Regions from separate parts of the Homo sapiens genome. Here region 1 is linked to region 2. Evidence: promoter capture Hi-C in 16 types of primary human blood cells and fetal thymus (Javierre and others, 2016). All regions are on one chromosome and are shown on one strand. Each heading gives the region's core, a stretch centred on a gene start or on the middle of the fragment in contact. The rest is flanking DNA. Distances are from core to core; before and after follow the strand shown.

Region 1 (6,170 bases), core at 1,681-4,180, 390 kb before region 2:
GGCGTGAACCTGGGAGGCGGAGCTTGCAGTAAGCTGAGATCGCACGCACCACTGCACTCCAGCCTGCAGCCTGGGCGACAGAGTGAGACTCCGTCTCAAAAAAAGAAAAAAGAAAAAAAAAGAATAGCAAATTTGGAAGACTCACACTTCCTGATTTTAAGACTTACTTCAAAGCAATAGTAATCAAGACGGTGATACTGGCATGAAGATAGAATTGAGACTCCAGAAATAAACCCTTGTATTTGTTGTTGTCGATTTTTCAATGAGGGTGATGACCATCCAATGGAGGAAAGAATAGTCTTTTCAAAATATGGTGCTGAGACAACAACTGGATATTCACAGGCAAAAGAATGAATTTGGATCCCTGCCTTATACCATATGAAACACGAATTCAAAATGGATTATAGACCCCTTAATGTAAGAGCTACAACTATAAAACTCTTAGAAAAAGAGATTAGATGTAAGTCTTTATGACCTTGAGTTAGTGCCTTCTTAAATATACTACCAAAAGCTCAAGCAACAAAAGAAAAATAGACAAATTGGACTTCAACAAAATTAAAGATTTTGGTGCTTCAAAGGGTGCCATCAAGAAAGTAAAAAGATAACCCACTGAGTAGAAAATATTTACAAATCATGTATCTGATAAGGGACTTGTATCCAGAATTATAAAGAACTCTTAAAACTCAGCAACAACAAAAACAACACCCCAACTAACCCAGTTTTAAAATGGGTAAAGGGCAAAATAGAATGGTCGTTATCAGTTGGGAGGAGAAAATGGGAAATTATTGTTTCATCAGTATAGAGTTTCAGATTTGCACGATGAAAAAGTTATGGCAACGTGAACATACTTAACACTACTACTGTACTATACACTTAAAAATGGTTAAGGTGGTAAATTTTATGTTGTGTGATTTTACCAGTGAAATATGTAGATTAGGCTGGGCATGGTGGCTCATGCCTGTAATCCCAGCACTTCGGGAGGCTGAGGCAGATGGATTGCTTGACTCCAGGAGTTTGAGACCAGCCTGCCCAACACAGTGAAACCCCATCTCTACACAAAATACAAAAATTAGCCAGGTGTGGTGGTGGGTGCCTGTAATCCCAGCTACTCTGGAGGCCGCAGGAGGATCACTTGAGCCTGGGAGGTGGAGGTTGCAGTGAGCTGAGATTGTGCCACTGCACTGCAGCGTGGGTGACAGAGTGAGACTCCATCTCAAAAAAAAGAAAAAAAAGTAAATTGGGGGAAAAAATGGGGAAAGGATCTGAATGGGTGTTTCTCCAAAGAAGATATACCAATGGTTGAGATGCACATGAAAAGATGTTTAACATAATCATGAGGGAAACACAAATCAAAAACACAGTGAGGTGCTATTTCGTACCCAGTAGGACAGCTAAATAAAAAAGACTGACCATAACAGTGTTGACAAGGATGTAGAAAAATCAGAACCCTTATACTTCGTTGGTGGGAATATAAAATGGTATAGCCACATTGGAAAACAGTTTAACAGTTTCTTAGAATGTTAAACATAGACTCACCATGTGATCCAACAATCTGCTCCTAGGTATACACCCTTGAGAACTGAAAATACATGTCTCCACAAAAACTTGTATGTGAATGGTCATGGCAACATTATTCCAAAGAGCTAAAAAGTGGAAATAACCCAAATGTCCATCAACTGGTGACTGGACAAAGTGTAGTTTATCAATACAATGGAGTACTATTAGGTAAGCAAAAGAAATGAGGTACTGATACACACTAAAACATAGGTGAACATTGAAAACATGCTAAGTGAAAAAGTCAGACACAAAATGTCACATATTGTGTTACTCCATTTATGTGATATGTACAGAATGGGCAAATGCATAGAGACAGAATGAAATATACAGAATAGGCAAATGAACAGAATGTACATTAGTAGTTTCCGGGGGCTGGGGAGAGGGAGGAATGGGAAGTGGCTGCTGAGTATTGGGTTTCTTTTTTAGAGTGATGAAAATGTGCTGAAATTAGATATTAGTTATGGTTGTACAACTCTTTGAATATATTAAAAACCACTGAATTTTACAGTGGGTGAATTTTATGGCATATGAATAGTATCTCAATGTATTCTTTTTTTGCATTACTATAAAGGAATACCTGAGACTGGGTAATTTATAAAGAAAACAAATTTAATTGGTTCATGGTTCTGCAGGCTGTGCAAGCATGGCACCAATGTCTGCTCAGCATCTGGTGAGGGCCTCAGGAAGTTTACAATCATGGTGGAAGGCATAGCAGAAGCAGGCAGATCACAGGACGAGAGCAGGGGCAAGAGGGGGAGAGGAGGAGGAGCCAGCTCCTTTAAACAGCCAGCTCTCCTGTGGACTGAGAACTCACTCATCACCAAGGGAATGGCACTAAACCATTCTTGAGGGATCCGCCCCCATAATGCAGTCACCTCCCACCACGCCCCACCTCTAACACTGGGAATCACATTTCAACATGAGATTTGGAGGGGACCCACATCCAAACCATATCACTCAATAAAGCTATTATTTTGTATTTTAAATTGGATGGCTAGGGAAAGCCTTTCTGAGGTAGTGACATTTAAACTGACATTGGAATGACTAACTTGAGGTTGGTAGTTGTGAATTCAGCTTCAGACCAGTCAGCATAGCTGTGTATTTCACTCCCACCACACATTGTGTGGGTGAAGGCAGAGAGTGGATAGGGTTGGGTTTTGATAGAAAAGTATGACGAAGGAAGAGAAGTGGCAAGGAGGGGGGTGTTGAGTGTGTGCAAAGAAAATATAATATCAAATGTAGACATGGAGCTTGGTTCAAGAGAGAAATTAGGCCGTGAGGGAGACAAGATAAAGATGGTAGGCTCAATGTAGTATAGGTTCAGTGGGTTGAAGTATTTTTCTAGGCAGACTACTAGAAGGAATGTGCTAGAAAGACAGAAGTTGGTGAGAGTAGGTGCTTGAAACTGAGATTTCAGGTAATGTACAGTAACTGGCAATAAAATGTTGTAGGTAGGAGGTGACTAGAAATGGCAGCCAACATAGGGTGGGAGAACAGTTGCTGAAGAAGAATTCAGAGAGGACATATGTATTAACAGATATATTAGCTTCCTGTGGAGGCCATAACAAACTACCACCAACCTGGGGTCCTAAACCCTCTCACAGTGCTGGACACAAGTTTGAAATCGAAGTGTCAGCAGAGCCACACTCTCTCTGCAAGCTCTAGGAAAGTATCTCTTTGTATTAGGATTCTCTAGAGAAACAGACTCAATAGGGTGGGCACGCGCATGTCTGTGAGATTTATTGTAAGGAAATGGCTTATGCAGTTATGGAGGATGACAAGTCCCAAGATCTGCGGGGTGAGTTGGCAAGTTGGAGACCCAGGAGAACTGATGATATAGGTCCAATCCTGGTCTGAAGGCCTGAGAACCAGGAGAACCAATGGTGGGTAGTTCCAGCAGGCTCCAGACCTAGAAAGAGTTGATCTTTCAGTTTGGGTCCAAAGGCAGACGTTTGAAGACAAGAGGACTTTTTTCTTATTCAGGGCTGGGTCAGCCTTTTTGTTGTATTCAGGCCTTCAAATGATTGGGTGAGGGTCATCCACACTAGGGAAGGCCATCTCTTTTACACAGTCTACCAATATAAATGTTAATCTCATGCAAAACACCCTAAAAGGAACACCCAGAAGAGCATTTCACCAAATATCTGAGCTTCTCATAGCCCAGTCAAATTGACACATAAAATTTATTTTATTTTATTATTTCTTTGAGACGGAGTCTCACTTTGTCACCCAGGCTGGAGTGCAGAGGCACAATCTCAGCTCACCGCAACCTCCCAGGTTCAAGCTATTCTCTTGCCTCAGCCTCCCGAGTAGCTGGGATTACAGGCATGCGCCAACATGCCTAGCTAATTTTTGTATTTTTAGTAGACATGGGGTTTCGCCGTGTTGGCCAGGCTGGTCTTGAACTCCTGGCCTCAGGTGATCCACCCGCCTTGGCCTCTCAAAGTGTTGGGATTACAGGCGTGAGCCACCCACCACGCCCGGCCCCTTGACACGTACATTGAACATCACACTGTTCTTTCCCTCTTCCAGCTTCTAGCTGCAGTTGGCGTTCTTTGACTTTGTGGCTGTGTCACTTCAGTCTCTGCCTCCTGGGTTACATTGCCTTCTTCTCATCTGTCTCTTCTCCTCTGTGTATCTGTCTTATATGAAAATACATTTGATTGCATTTTGGGCCCAACCAGGTAATCCAGGGTAAATGCTTCCTCTCCCATCTAGATTCTTAAGTTAATTTTGTCATAGAAGGTAATATTCACTCTTCTGCCATATAAGGTAATGCAGGTTCCAGAGATTAGGATGTGGACATATCTTTTGGGGGGCCGTCATTCATCCCACTACGATCAGTGCATTGGAAAGATCAACTGTAAATGTTGAAATCAACAAGAATTATGACAGTAGTAATGTTGGACTCCGCGAAGGAGGGACAACTTGGGTTTTGGTCTGATTATACGACATTCAAAATCGGAGTTTTAAGGAAAAGGGAAAATGATCTGAGAGTGGCAGTGTGGTTCTAGGAGGACTTCTCCTCCACCTGGAGGTCTAGTTGTTTGAGGGGTGTGAGAAAGAAAGCAGCTGCCACTTGAAATGGCTGCAGGGAAGCTGAGCCTTCAGGGAATGCCAGGTTTCCTCCTAGAGCCGTAGGTGAAAGCAACATTCAGAGAAGAGGTTGATGCGTAAGCCTCGGACAGAGGAGGGATTTTGCCGATGCTGGACTATGAAGACAAGGAGAAGGGTTTTGAGAGTTGAGGATTGGGGTCGCGTGAGGGGATGTACTGAGCCTCACAGGAATAAAAACCAGGTGAGAGTCTTGGATTTCTTATTTTTAAAAAGTATAACCTGATATAAAGGTCGTGCTGGAATTAACCCCAGATAGGCAGATCATGGCACTGTGGCAATGTGTTAGTTGAGAGGGTGTTGGTTGCCAGGAACATGCAGGGCTCTGGGTTCATCTTTTTACTCTTGTTGATGGTGTTATGGAGGCCTGGGGAGAAGTGCTCTGAAACTCTCCCATTCGACAGCTGACTTAGAGCTAAAGTGACTGCTTCGTTGACCAGAGGCCTCCCTTTGAAATTCTGGACTTTCTAGAGCCCCCCAAGGGTTAGGGGGAATAGTCTGGGATATCCTGATAACCTTTATCCGCATTTTCAGTAGGTTGCTTGGGATGTTTTAGATATTGCTCCTTTCAATCATCTGAACGTTGCCCAATTCTACTGTGTTGTTTGCATGCACGATTTATTCATAAAACCACTTACAGCTGCAAAAATGCTAAGTTTAAAACGAGAACATTCAAAATGGACCCAGCTGTTTAAAAAGATGGATGCGATCAAATAAAGAATTGGTGTGTAGTTTATGAAACAATAAGGCATTTTTTCAACTGTAGCCTGATTATTCTTAGAGCGATGACAAGGAGGTTTTTCCATTACAAAGAAGTGTATGACTTAGCTTAAACCAAGCAGTTCTTCAAATGAGCAATTTCCTGTGGCAGTCATCACTTAGCCACAGCCCTTTTGTCAACTTTAGATCTTTTTTTTGTTCTTGCAGATGGCCACCAGAGCTGCACTGGAGAGTGCATCTTCTGCTTCCATGTGTGGGAAGATCACTGTGTTCTCTGTGACCCAGTAGTGTGAATTGCTTATCTGTTTCTGCATTAACTCAAATTTATCAGTGATTATTGCCTGAATACCTCATGCTTTCTGAGATCTACAGGTACAGATTTAGGGTTGAACTCTTTCTCTAAATAAATTTAATCCATGTGTGTTATATGTTGTATATCTTCATTTAGTGACTACGAAATGTCTAGCTATGAAATGTGCATGTTAATTACTCATTAAGCCTTTGGATCGCCTTTGATGAGCCAGATCCTGTGCTCCCCGGCATTCTCTTGCACACCTTCTTTCTGAATGTTTTCTCACAGTTCCGGCTTTTACATGCCCCTCACTCCACCCCAGACGCTAATAAATTTCTGCAGTTCTTAGTTCCAGCTCGTTCTTCTTGTTTAGGTTAAGACTCCTACATTCAGAGATCTCATGGACATTTCTGTCTTGAAGTCTCACTGGTTCTTCTGTCAATATGTGGTTCTAATAATTTTTCAGTTCCTTTTCTTGGACTTCCAA
Region 2 (4,822 bases), core at 69-2,568:
ATCTTGATGTGAGTCAAGCTCCTGGATGGCTGGAGAGAGGAAGGATGTTCTAGTTGGGGGAACAGCTTGGACAATGGAGACCCAAGAAAGCCATGTTCTAGCAGTGTGAATGTTGTGGATGCTGAAGTGCCAGGATGCAAGGTGGAGAACTGGGAAATGGCCCTGGAAAGGGGCCAAAGCCGGGTGATGAAGCACCTTGTCTACTGTGACGGAGCTTGGATCTCTCTTGTGGTCCAAAGGGAAAGGATTGCTGAATGTAAAGCCAATGTCACCAGAAAAGCTGAATCCACAAGAGAGTCCTGGAGTCCAAAAGAGCATCTCATGGGGAATCAGGAAAGTTCTGGCATTTGGCAGATTAAGCAAGTGTCTTGATTTGAAGTCCAGTTTAGTCCCAATACTCCCTCCCACACCCACCACATCGCACAATTTGGTTTTGTTTATTTACTCCAGGTTAAGGTAGAGTCTCTTAGCTTGGTTTGAGTGCTGTACTCTTCTCTCTGGTCTGATATTTGGAACTAAAGCCAAGCCAGAACTCCAGGGCCAAGGGGGATGTTGAAAATTGTCTGAGTCCCCAGACCACCCTGCCAGCTCATGGCAAAGGGAGGGATCAGAGGCCACAGGGAAAGCACTTCAGCTGCTCTTCACAGCATCACCCTCTCCCCATTTAATGGTTTAGGTTAACAGGACTTTTTCCTTGAGGCTTGGGACACGGAAGGGAGCCTCCCCTAAACCAGGCCCTTGGAGAGCAGGCCCCAGGGGAGCAGTGCAACTCACCTTCACACCCACAAGACGGCTCCTGACTTCTGCTCCCTCCTCCCCTCCCCAAAGTGGAACAGAGAGAATATGATTCCCCACGACTTCCACATCACAGTTTCCAAACAATGGGGAAATCGGAGGCCTCCCCGTGTGCAGACGGTGATATTTACCGCCAAATGCGAACCAGGCAGATGCCAGCCCCAGCACGCACGCAGGTAACTTCACCCTCGCCTCAACGACCTCAGAGGCTGCCCGGCCTGCCCCACACGGGGGTGCTAAGCCTCCCGCCCGTTCTAAGCGGAGACCCAACGCCATCCATAATTAAGTTCTTCCTGAGGGCGAGCGGCCAGGTGCGCCTTCGGCAGGACAGTGCTAATTCCAGCCCCTTTCCAGCGCGTCTCCCCGCGCTCGTCCCCCGTCTGGAAGCCCCCCTCCCACGCCCCGCGGCCCCCCTTCCCCTGGCCCGGGGAGCTGCTCCTTGTGCTGCCGGGAAGGTCAAAGTCCCGCGCCCACCAGGAGAGCTCGGCAAGTATATAAGGACAGAGGAGCGCGGGACCAAGCGGCGGCGAAGGAGGGGAAGAAGAGCCGCGACCGAGAGAGGCCGCCGAGCGTCCCCGCCCTCAGAGAGCAGCCTCCCGAGACAGGTAAGGGCGCAGCGTGGGGGACCCGTGCTCTTTCCCCGGGATCCCCTGTCCCCGTCCTCGCGATGCAGTCGGCCGGCTCCGGCTCCGAAGGCGGACCTGGGCGCCTCTGGCTCTCCGCGGTCCCGAGTTCTCGACAAACTTTCTGCGCCGACTGCGGCATGAGAAGCCGCCAGTAGCTGAGCTGGAGGGCCCACGTCCGGCCCCTGGGCGGACGGCCGCGAAGCTGCAGGCGCTGTCTCCAGGGAGCCGGCGGCCTCCTCTCCCCCAGGGGCTCGCGGCGGTCCGGAGGCTCCGAGAGCTTGCTAGGAGGTCTTGGGACAACCCGGTCTTTTTTTTTTTTTTTGAGACGGAGTTTCGCTCTTGTTGCCCATGCTGGAGAGCAAAGGGGTGATCTCTGCTCACCGCAACCTTCGCCTCCCGGGTTCAAGCGATTCTCCTGCTTCAGCCTCCCGAGTAGCTGGGATTACAGGCATGCGCCACCACGCCCGGCTAATTTTTGTATTTTTAGTAGAGACGGAGTTTCTCCATGTTGGTCAGGCTGGTCTCAAACTCCCGACAACAGGTGATCCGCCCGCCTTGGCCCCCCAAAGTTCTGGCATTACAGGCGCGAGCCACCGCCCCCGGCCAGCCCGGTCTTTTAGTATCTCTTGCTCCCAGTTTCCAGGATAGGTGTCACATCTTGAAAGTCAAATTCCATACACGCTATCGCAAATTAATGTTGGAAACGGGGCAGCAGAGAAAAGGATAAAAGTCATAATGAACGCCCTGCCTTCCGGATTTTTTCGGATTCAGACCCCTGAATCCTTGTTTCCTTGCCCACCTTAGCGCACCCGAGGTGGCCGCGCTATGATAATTACATGATAACTGGGTCAATTACAATGCAGAATAGTTGGGTCTCTTCTCTCCAAGACCTAGCTGGGGTTAAAAACAGGTGGCCGGGGCGGGAGCTGTCCTAGATCCTGAAACGCACTGTCTAGTTTCGGATGCCCTCAACAGAACCGGGGTGGACGGTTTATGGCGCAGATCCTGGGTTGAGGGCACGGGCAGCCATTTGGAATGATCAAGGCTCAGGTAAGGGGCGTTTCCAGCGAAGGAGAGACAGTCCACTTGGCATTTGGATTCCCCAAATTCTTCATGTTTAAATGGGGCAGGGAGGGTTCTTACAGAATGGCTGGAAGGAGCCAAGGAAAATAAAAGTGTGTGTGGATTTTTTTTGTGTGTGTGTCAGTTTATAAACTCTGCACAGATTATGGCCACTTTAATGACTTACTGTTCCTTTGATGCTTTTGTTATAGGACTCGATGCATGTATGTCATGGTGTAAGGACAAAACTCGGCCCCTGTGCTCCTCTAATCTTTACAAAAGGTCATGGCCAGCGTGCAGTTTTACAGTAACAAGCAAAATGATTTGTTGAGCTCATAGAGAGCCCCTCACACCTATGAAGTTCTAATAAGTGTAGTTCTACTATAAAGTTAATCTCAGGATGAGCAAATTTCAAGTTTCTATTTTTCCAGAGCTTTCCATTTTTGGATTATAATACTTTCCCTACTTAAAAAAGCACAACATTTGATATTTCCCCAATAATTTGTTGCTTTAAAAATGACACAAAAGGTACTATTTGTTCATTGTAGAGAACTGAAAATACACATAAGCAAATACACATACACATAAGCAAAATATACAATACAAACACAAGACCATCTTTCAGGGAAGAATCTGAAGTTTTAGCAATAGCAGCCATCTAACCAGTTTAGCAACAGAATATAAGCTCTGAGAGGGTGGGAGTGAATATGTTACCACATTGTACAACACAGCACATAGGGCATAAGGAGGGGAAATGCTCTCTGGGGCTTTCCAGGAAGGCCTGAAGTCATTGCTTCTAGCAAATGGAAATCACTCCAGAGTAGTTATCTTTGACAAGAATTGAAATATAATTGAGGGAACTATCAGACCTGTAAGATTTTGTTTTTTCCTTTACTAATATGTTACTTTACATTTGCATTTGGTGACATACGTAACTACCATTTTTCTGTGACTGTAACATCTGGGCATTTTTCAGAGCTAAATGTGCTATGGTCAACTTGGAGCTTTAATCTAATTGCCTGGTCCACCAAGTTCTGGCTGTGTACTTGAATAGATCACTGGCAGGGTACAATGGGAACAGCCTGTCCCTTGGAGCCAGGAGAGGACACCAAGGTTGACCAAAGCTCGTTCAGTTGCCCCTTTAGCCGAAGCGCACCTGGGCCAGTCACTGGCTGCCAGTGCCATCTAATGGCTGCTCTGAAAATGCTCAGCCTTGCCCGGCAACCCTTCAGAAGCTAGCACCGTGCAGGCCCAGCGCCTGGGGAATAGGGCGAGGGTGGGGTAGAGAGAAGGAAGTGGCCTCCTGAAGTAGAAATCAGCGCTTCAGAGGACTTTCACTTCCAAAGCCTCCCCTATATAAAAAAGATTTGGCCCACGCCTCCCCAAATGAGAGATTTATTTTAGGCAAACTTATTTTAAAATGCCAGCGTTCATTAGGAGTGACAAGACACTTAGTCATCCACGCTTTAATGTGAATTACTTTTCTCATCTAATTACATTTCTTTCTAGCAGCTGGCTGAGAAGATCTTCTGAAATCCAAAATGATTGTAGGGTTGGCGGTGAGCTGATCTCCGGCCTCGAGGTGGCTTCAGGGGGCCCACCTGGTTAAGGGAAATTTGGCAGTGCGAGGGTAGTGCTGGAGAGAGGGGTGGGTACAGGGGGCTAGGGGCACCATGGATGCCCCCTCCTTACTGTCCCCTGGTGTCTTGACCTCAGCTTCTGCCCACAGGCACTTGCTGGATTCTCCAAAAGTATCTGCAGTGGCTGTTCCACCAGGAGGTAATTCCCTTCTGGTCTCTTTCCCCTCCACATCTGCATCCTCTTCAAATCCTGCCATTTCAGACCACATTTGAGAGCTCTAGAGAACAAGACATCTGACACGTGACGTGTCCAGAAGATGAGCCAGATTTCAAAGAACTGAGATCTGCTTTAAAAACGAAGCTCTCCAAAGTTACTGGAGTCTGGGTAATAGTGATCACCAGAGTAATTTGTGTGCAGGACATCAAATCAGGCTGCTCGAAATGCTGCCTAAATTGGCCAGTGGTTTTATTTGCTTTTCTGTCAACCTAATATTCATAGGAAATAGAGTTTCAGAGGAATGATAGGATCCTGGTGGAATAAAAAGGGAAAAGACCATCTTGAGCAGGAGTTTCAGGGTCCTCCGTTTTTCCCAAGTTACTTTCACTCCTGAGATCTTGCATGTTAGAACTACAGCTTAATGTAGTGAAATAGGAAAGTTCTCTGTTAGGAGCTTAGCCTTACCTTGTCATGGACATTAAAGTAATTGTCTCTCTTTGGGCTTCAATTTTCCCATCTCTCATGGGAAGGGCTGAACCAAG

What was found. Contacts are between HindIII fragments. The CHiCAGO score rates a contact against its expected background, and 5 or more counts as called.
Region 1: a fragment that was not itself captured here is called in contact with the fragment with the promoter of POMC in region 2 in 1 of 17 cell types (total B cells); the score reaches 5.3 in total B cells.

Annotation. Positions count from the first base shown.
Region 1 is chr2:25,557,836-25,564,005 of GRCh38, reverse strand. The region is part of intron 8 of DTNB (dystrobrevin beta); the gene reads left to right. Among named protein-coding and RNA genes, the nearest start is that of DTNB, 110 kb to the left of the region's middle. RefSeq lists a cis regulatory region at 330-331 and enhancers at 258-402, 5,139-5,834. The HindIII fragment of the contact is 8,244 bases long and covers 1-6,170 here.
Region 2 is chr2:25,165,076-25,169,897 of GRCh38, reverse strand. It overlaps POMC (proopiomelanocortin), which reads left to right and starts at 1,318. Exons shown (of 3, transcript NM_000939.4): 1 at 1,318-1,400. RefSeq lists cis regulatory regions at 1,016-1,041, 1,042-1,215, 1,281-1,293, an enhancer at 1,202-1,221 and a promoter at 632-1,444. The HindIII fragment of the contact is 11,223 bases long and covers 1-4,822 here.